2 separate regions of the Homo sapiens genome follow, and region 2 is linked to region 1. Evidence: promoter capture Hi-C in human tissues and cell types (Jung and others, 2019). All regions are on one chromosome and are shown on one strand. The core of a region is centred on a gene start or on the middle of the fragment in contact, and the rest is flanking DNA. Distances in the headings are between cores, read along the strand shown.

Evidence for each region. Contacts are between HindIII fragments. The study calls those that stand out against the background at their distance.
Region 2: a contact is called between a fragment that was not itself captured here and the fragment with the promoter of SLC4A9 in region 1, in 1 of the 25 tissues and cell types used here (thymus).

What each region holds. Positions count from the first base shown.
Region 1 is chr5:140,357,630-140,361,753 of GRCh38, forward strand. SLC4A9 (solute carrier family 4 member 9) reads left to right here and starts at 2,565. Exons shown (of 22, transcript NM_031467.3): 1 at 2,565-2,837; 2 at 3,183-3,343; 3 at 3,625-3,738. The coding sequence starts at 2,608. The HindIII fragment of the contact is 12,269 bases long and covers 1-4,124 here.
Region 2 is chr5:140,655,719-140,660,295 of GRCh38, forward strand. It overlaps IK (IK cytokine), which reads left to right. Exons shown (of 20, transcript NM_006083.4): 9 at 111-274; 10 at 1,836-1,944; 11 at 3,019-3,058; 12 at 3,221-3,446; 13 at 3,597-3,615; 14 at 4,038-4,116; 15 at 4,397-4,477. Among named protein-coding and RNA genes, the nearest start is that of WDR55, 6.9 kb to the right of the region's middle. The HindIII fragment of the contact is 4,391 bases long and covers 772-4,577 here.

The DNA.
Region 1 (4,124 bases), core at 1,315-3,814:
TTCCCCATCCTGTTGTTCTTCCCCAACCCCCCATCTCTCCGGGCCATTCCGCGGTGGGCCAGGGCAAGGCTGAGGGTTTAGGATCTCTCCCTGCCATCTGGGCATCTCCATCTCTGCGCCCCGGCAGGTCTGCAGCCACTGGGCCTAAGGGAGCGGCCCTAGCAATCCGGTCTGAGGGGAGCAGTGCCCTCGTGTGGCCTCCAGGAGAAGCGCGGCTCTTTTCTCAGCCCGGTCCTTTGTATGCTCTCATTGAACAAGTATTTATTGAGAGCCACTACGTGCCAGGCGCCGCTCTAGGCGCCGCGGCCAAGACAGATACCTGCTCCACGGACTGTGCATTTCAGCGTGTGCGTGCGTGGACAGTCAGGCAATAAATGATAAACAAATACATAAATGAGGCAGTTACTAGTAGTGGTAACTGCTAGGAAGAAAATAAAACAGAGAAATGTGATGGAGAGTGACCCAAGAGAGAAACTTAGGGTAGGATGGGCCGGGCGCGGTGCTCACGCCTGTAATCCCTGCACTTTGGAAGGCCGAGGCGGGTGGATCACGAGTTCAGGAGATCGAGACCATACTGGCTAACACGGTGAAACTCCGTCTCTACCAATACAAAAAAAAAAAAAAAAAAAAGAAAGAAATTAGCCGGACGTGGTGGCGGGCGCCTGTAGTCCCAGCTACTCTGGAGGCTGAGGCAGGAGAATGGCGTGAACACGGGAGGCGGAGCTTGCAGTAAGCCGAGATCATGCCACTGCACTCCAGCCTGGGCAACAGAGCGAGACTCCGTCTCAAAAAAAAAAAAAAAAAAAAAAAAGAAAGAAACTTAGGATAGGATGGAAAAGGAAGATTTCCGTGAGTAGCTAACGTCTGAGATGAGACCTAGGTCACAGATTGTCATGTAAGGATATGGGGGAAAGGCTTTCCTTACAGAGAAAATAGATCCTGCAAAGATCCTCAGGCAGGAACAGGTTTTGCAGAACAGGTGAAGGCCAGTGTGGTTAGAAAGGAGTGAGCGAGGGGAGGCTGGTGTGAGATGCCGTCAGAGAGGTGGGTTGGGGCCAGGGTGTGAATCTTGCAGGCCACGACAAGGAGCTTGATTTTTTTTTCTTCTTCTTCTAGGAGTAATGGGAGTGTGTTGGGTGAGTATTGAACCGAAGAGTAATGTGGCTCAACTGCCTTTTGAAAGGACATGTATGGTGTGGAGGATGGACTTTGGGCAAGGGAGGAAGAGTGGAAGCAGGGGGGTTATTACAAGAGACCAGGAAGCTACTGAAATAATTCAGGTGAGAAATGATGGTTGTTTGAATCAGGGTAGCAGTGCTGGAGGTGGGGAGATGTGGTTGGATTATGGGTATATTTTGAAGATAGAGTCAACAGGATTTGCAAATAATGGACCACATTTTCCTTTGCTCATTTAGCTCCAGGAACTCCTTCACTTACACCCCCTAGTGGGCTCCTCCATCCTCACAGGGCAGATCCCAGGGACACAGCTAAATTAGGGAATTCCTAAGTGTTGTTGGACAAAAGAATTTAAGACTCGTTAGCTGGGCAGCCAGGCACAGTGGCTTACGCTTGTAATCCTAGCACTTTGGGAGGCTGAGGCGGATGGATCACCTGAGGTCAGGAGTTTTTGAGACCAGCCTGGCCAACATGGTGAAACCCTGTCTCTACTAAAAATATAAAAATCAGCCAGGCCTGGTGGCACATGTCTGTAATCTCAGCTACTTGGGAGGCTGAGGCAGGAGAATCACTTGAACCCAAGAGGTGAAGGTTGCAGTGAGCTGAGATCACACCACTGCACTCCAGCCTGGGCGACAGAGCGAGACTCCGTCTCAAAAATAAAATAAAATAAAATAAAAGACTTAGCTGGGCATGGTGGCGTGCACCTGTAGTCCCAACTACCTTGGAGGCTGAGGTGGGAGGATCACTTGAGCTAGGAGGTCAAAGGTGCAGTGAGCTATAACTGTGCCACTACACTCCAGACTGGGTGAGAGAGTGAGACCCTGTCTCAAAAAAAAAGAAAAGAAAAGAATTTAAGACTCAGACACTAGGTCTTCCACCATTATCCCATTTAATGGGCAGGTCCTCTGCCTGCTATCTCCCTTACCCTGTCTGGCTTCCATGGACTCAATTATTTATTAGGTCCCTGTTTGTCCAAATAGGTGTGTCTGTGGCCCCAGGGGTGTGTTGGTGACACCCAAAACAGTCCTGGGTGTTTGGTATTTATATTTGATACAAGTGAGGGGGGCAGCAAAATCTGGGGGTACCAAGTCCTCAGACCCAAGCCAATCATTTACTCCTGTTTCTTTACACAAAACACAGTGGGATCAGACCTGATACCACAGGAAATGCACATACACATTTTGGCCCCAGGTTGGGCATTTCTGGAGAGCCTGGGAAAGGCCAGACTAGTCTTACAAATACTCTTATGCCAGCAGGGGGTGGGGTAAGCAAGTAGGGGAGTAGGTGACCGGTAGAGTCTGGAGTCAGCAGGCCTTGTTCTGTTTGTGTTGTGCTGCAGTGGGGGATGCATTATAAATGCAACCAGCCAGAGGGCCCCTGGCTTCAGAACCTAGGACTGTACTGGTTCTGAGATTCTGTGCAAGCCTCATGGAAATGAAGCTGCCAGGCCAGGAAGGGTTTGAAGCCTCCAGTGCTCCTAGAAATATTCCTTCAGGGGAGCTGGACAGCAACCCTGACCCTGGCACCGGCCCCAGCCCTGATGGCCCCTCAGACACAGAGAGCAAGGAACTGGGAGTACCCAAAGACCCTCTGCTCTTCATTCAGCTGAATGAGCTGCTGGGCTGGCCCCAGGCGCTGGAGTGGAGAGAGACAGGCAGGTAAGTTGGATGCAGGCCAGTTCTGTGGGATCCTTCCCCTTCCCCAGCTGGAGCCTCCTATATGTCCCCCAGCGCTTCTTATGGGGCTGCCCAAAATTAGGATTTTCCCAGCTGTGTTCCCTTATTTCAGGGTCTTACCTTCCATGATGCCCAGCCTCCTCTGCAGTCTAGTTTTGAGATCCCCAAGACCCTAGATGAGGGGTGACTGCCAGGGTGGGGGGGAGACTTCACACCACTGGGCCCAGGATGCCCTCATTGCCTTGCCTTCCCTAGCTCCTCTGCATCTCTGCTCCTGGACATGGGAGAAATGCCCTCAATAACACTGTCTACCCACCTTCATCACAGGTGGGTACTGTTTGAGGAGAAGTTGGAGGTGGCTGCAGGCCGGTGGAGTGCCCCCCACGTGCCCACCCTGGCACTGCCCAGCCTCCAGAAGCTCCGCAGCCTGCTGGCCGAGGGCCTTGTACTGCTGGACTGCCCAGCTCAGAGCCTCCTGGAGCTCGTGGGTAGGCTGGGATCCTTTGCAGGAAGGGCCTGGGTAGCCATGCCTTTTCCCCAGGATTTCCCCTCCAAAGTCTTGAAATCTTCCAGAGCCCATCCCTACCCCTCCTAGGATTGTCTACCCTTGTCACAGGGTGGACATGGAAAAGCAGGGTGGAGGAGCAAGTTCATTGGCCCTGGCATTCTGAGACTCCCAGAAGGGAAAGGTGTCTGGGCAGAGGGAGAAGGGGAAGAGTGTGCGGCAGGGAACTCTCAGGAAGGAGATGACCCCCAATCCATTCTCCAGAGCAGGTGACCAGGGTGGAGTCGCTGAGCCCAGAGCTGAGAGGGCAGTTGCAGGCCTTGCTGCTGCAGAGACCCCAGCATTACAACCAGACCACAGGCACCAGGCCCTGCTGGGGTGAGAGCCCCTCCCTGGGCCCAGGACCAAGACCCTGGTGTGGCAGGGTCTCAGATCTCCCCTGCACCTTCCAGGGCTAGAAGTAGCCCAGGCTTAGTTCAGGCTCCAACCCAGGACTCATGAGCAAGAGGAAACTGGTGGTAATGTTGTGGGGAGAAGATTCAGGGGGCTAGAATCGTAAGAGAGTTCTGTGAAGACATGTACTTGGTAGGCACTAGGCCTACCATTTGATCTTCACAGTATCTCATTTGATCTTCACAACCACCCTGTAAATAGTACCACAATTATCCCCATTTTAGTGGTGAGAAAACTGTGGCTCAGAGTGGAGAAGGGTATACTCTAATTCTTACAGCTTGTCAGTGGCAAAAGTGATTAGGGAATCCTGG
Region 2 (4,577 bases), core at 1,717-4,216, 300 kb after region 1:
TGACGCAAAGCTTGCATAGCACTTGGCATGGTGGCTAGCACAGAGTAAGCACATAAGTGACAGCTGTTCTTGTAGATCCTGGCTACTTGCTGCTCTTCTCCTTATTGTAGGCCGCAATGTTTACCGAATGCTTTTTAAGAGCAAAGCATATGAGCGGAATGAGTTGTTCCTGCCGGGCCGCATGGCCTATGTGGTAGACCTGGATGATGAGTATGCTGACACAGATATCCCCACCACTCTTATCCGCAGCAAGGCTGATTGCCCCACCATGGAGGTGAGTGAATGGAATCCTGAGAGCCTATCATGTGAGCCTCAAGCCTGGGAATCAGCCTGGCCTCTGCCCCGTGTCCCTTGTCCACCATGTCACCAAGTGCTGTTCACTTTTACCTCCTAAATCTCAACTGAATCCATTCACTTTTCCACTTTTTCACCAATAACATTCCAGTCTAAGCTATAATCATTTGCTGGAACTATTAACTTACTATTTTTTTAGAGACCAAGTCTCACTCTGTCACCCAGGATGGAGTGCAGTGGTGCTATCTTGGCTCACTGCAAACTCCGCCTCCCAGGTTCAAACGATTCTCCTGCCGCAGCCTTCCAAGTAGCTGGGACTACAGGCATTCATCACCACACCTGGTTAATTTTTTTATTTTTAGTAGAGATTGGGTTTTACCACGTTGGCTAGGCTATTCCTGACCTCAAGTGATCCATCCGCCTTGGCCTCCCAAAGTACTGGGATTACAGGCATGAGCCACTGCGCCAGTCCTCTGGAGCTATTAAAAAGGCTTCTAATTGGTTTCCGCACTTCCACTCTGGTTTCCGCACTTCCACTCTGATTTGTTATTATATCTTGTTATTGAGGTGTTATTCACATGCCATATAATTCATCCTTTAAAGAGAATTTTTTTAAAAATTTTTGTGGATATATAGTAGGTATATATATTTATGAGGTACATGAGATGTTTTGATACAGGCATATAATGCATAATAATCACATCATGGAAAATGGGGTATCCATCCCGTTAAACATTTATCTTTTGTGTTACAAACAATCCATTTATACTCTTTTAGTTGTTTTAGAATGTATAAATTATTACTGCCTATAGTCACCCTGTTGTGCTATCATGTAGTAGGCCTTATTCATTCTTTCTATTTTTTTGGTACCTATTAACCACCCCTACCTCCCCTACCCTTCTAAAATATACAGTTTGGCTGGGTGCAGTGGCTCACACCTGTAATCCCAGCACTTTGGGAGGCTGAGGTGTGAGGATCACTTGAGGTTAGGAGTTCAATACCAGGTGGGCCAACATTGTAAAACCTGATCTCTACTAAAAATTAGCCAGGCGTGGCGGCATGTGCCCGTAATCCCAGTTACTCGGAAGGCTGAGGCATGAGAATTGCTTGAACCCAGAAGGTGGAGGTTGCAGTGAGCCAAGATCGTGCCACTGCATTCTAGCCTGGGCGACAGAATGAGACTCTGTCTCCAAATAAATAAATAAAATGTAAATTTTTGTCTCACTACAGTTTAGAAGCTTTTAGTAGTATCTCATTCTTAGGATAAAGAGCAAAATCTTTACCATGACTTTGAGCCTCTGCAACATCTGGCCTTTCTAGAATGTTCTAGACTCCTGACTTTCTTGAATGGTCTTGATTCATTTTGATGCAGGGCTTTTGTGCAGGCTGTTTTATCTCTGGAATATCCTTTCACAGCACTTCGTTTCCCTCCCTTCACCTACTGTATTGTAATTCAGTCTTTAGTTTGTTAAGTGAATGAATGAATAAATGAAGAGATTTCTGCTGAGTGGTTTAACATTCTTGTTTCTTGGTATTTTCAGGCCCAGACCACACTGACCACAAATGACATTGTCATTAGCAAGCTGACCCAGATCCTTTCATACCTGAGGCAGGGAACCCGTAACAAGAAGCTTAAGAAGAAGGATAAAGGTACCTGGAGGGTTAGAGAGAGAAGCCTTACCCACAGAGGACGTTTGGGGATAAAACCAAGGTCTCCTGGAGCTTTCTGTCTCCAGAATATTGAGAGGCTCCTGGGAAGCAGAGAAAAATGGGAGTACTGGAGCATTGGCAAGGAGACAGTTACAGCCAGATTCTGTCTCCTTAACCTACCTAAGAAGCAGTGGTCAGGTCTGAAGCATGAGGGATGGAGAGTGGGTAGCTTATGTCCTATTTATTTATTTTTTTTAAAAGAGATTTTTTGGTGAAAACCAGAAAACCTAGACAGATTCTAAAAAGGCTCTAATACTTGACCGACATTTTATTTTATTTTATTTATTTATTTTTTGAGACGGAGTCTCGCTCTGTCACCCAGGCTGGAGTACAGTGGTGCGATGTCTGCTCACTGCAACCTCTGCCTCCCGGGGTCAAGCGATTCTTCTGCCTCAGCCTCCCAAGTAGGCACTATAGGCACTATAGGCACGCATCACCACGCCTGGCTAATTTTTGTATTTTCAGTAGAGATGGGGTTTCACTGTATTGGCCTGGCTGGCCTCGAACTCCTGACCTTATGATGTGCCCACCTCGGCCTCCCAAAGTGCTGGGATTACAGGCATGAGCCACTCTTCCTGGCCTTATTTTATTATTTTTATTTATTTATTTATTTTGAGACGAGTCTCGTTTTGTCGCCCAGGCTGGAGTGCAGTGATGCCATCTCGGCTCACTGCAACCTCTGCCTCCTGGGTTTAAGCAATTCTCTTGCCTCAGCCTCCTGAGTAGCTGGGATTACAGGCACCTGCCATCACACCCGGCTAATTTTTTTGTACTTTTAGTAGAGATGGGGTTTCACCATGTTAGCCAGGCTGGTCTCAAACTCCTGACCTCAAGTGATCCGCCCGCCTTGGCCTCCCGAAGTGCTGGGATTACAGGCGTGAGCCACCGCACCCAGCCTTGACCCACGTTTTAAACAGAAGATGTTTAAAAGGGCATTAAGAGCTGGAGAGGATGGTGAAGTTCAGTGGAAATTAACTGAGGAGTATGTTCCTGACTCCTCTCTTTAAATTTCAGGGAAGCTGGAAGAGAAGAAACCTCCTGAGGCTGACATGAAGTATGTATCCTAGCCCCTGGCATCTGATCAGAGGGAGGGGGTCTGTACATTTCTTGTGTCTGGCATTTTGGGGAGGTGCTGACATGAGAATCTGGAGAAATGGTCAGGGGGAGTGAAGGTGTATGTGTGAATTTGGCCAGCTAGTGATCTCCATTTTCCCAGTATTTTTGAAGACATTGGGGATTACGTACCCTCCACAACCAAGACACCTCGGGACAAGGAGCGGGAGAGATATCGGGAACGGGAGCGTGATCGGGAAAGAGACAGAGACCGTGACCGAGAGCGAGAGCGAGAACGAGATCGGGAACGAGAGCGAGAGCGGGACCGAGAGAGAGAAGAGGAAAAGAAGAGACACAGCTACTTTGAGAAGCCAAAAGTAGATGATGAGGTGAGATGTGGGCCCTTAGTACCAGGTGATGGAGTTGCCCCTCTCTGGAAATGTGAGCAAGGTTGGGTAAGGAATTGTTTCAAACTTGGGGGAGGGATGAGTAGGAATCTCTCATGGTAACACTAACTTCACATTTTGTGTTCTTTCCAGCCCATGGACGTTGACAAAGGTGAGTTGTACACACAGCATCTCACAGTTGCTCTAGCAGTCCTGCTTTCCCCTGGTAGGGCTCAGAGCTGGCAACGGTGGGATTGGGGGACCTCCTGGTTCTGGGTTCTTGTAAGAACTGTGTCTTGCTTTATTGAATAGGTGGAGTTCCCTCCACCTTCCTGGGCCATGGCAGGGCATATTTGCTCTTAGATATAATTCCTGTGGCCCTGGGGTTCTGAGGAGGTGAGGTAGAGGTCAAGTATGGAATGTTCTGGATACCCTACCCTCATCTCAACCAGAGTGACTCATTAATTGGAGTTTGTTTAAAACTTTGTTAGACAAAAGGGTTCTATGCCTTAAAAATGTTTTTTAAGTGTGTTGTGGGGAGGAGGTTGTGAGAGCCTCAGTTCAAGGTCTGGGCTGAGTTCTCTTTTCTCCTAGGACCTGGGTCTACCAAGGAGTTGATCAAGTCCATCAATGAAAAGTTTGCTGGGTCTGCTGGCTGGGAAGGCACAGAATCATATCCTTTATTTTAATACGTTCCTGGGTTCCAGAGAACTGGTCTCTTTACTCCAACCCCCCCTGCCTCCCTGCTCCCTCCTACCCTGCCCCTCTCCTTCCCTTTTACGCTGAATTTTGACAGAATGAAACCATCCCTTGTTCCTTCCCAGAGCACCCATAACAGCTCACAGCCCACTCAGAATTTTCATGTTGGGGCTTCTAGCCCTTGGCCCCCTCCTGGCTGAAGCTTTACAGCAATAGGTAGAATCCTGTGTAGTGTTTTCTTTAACATAGCATATGCTGAAGAAGCCAGAAGACAAAAAGCAGCTGGGAGATTTCTTTGGCATGTCCAACAGTTATGCAGAGTGCTACCCAGCCACGTATGTGAAACCTGGTTAAGGAAGGGAGGCTGGGATGATTGGGAAACAAGTTGGGGGTGAAATGGAAATTTGATTCGCTAAGTCCCAGGGCTACTTCTTT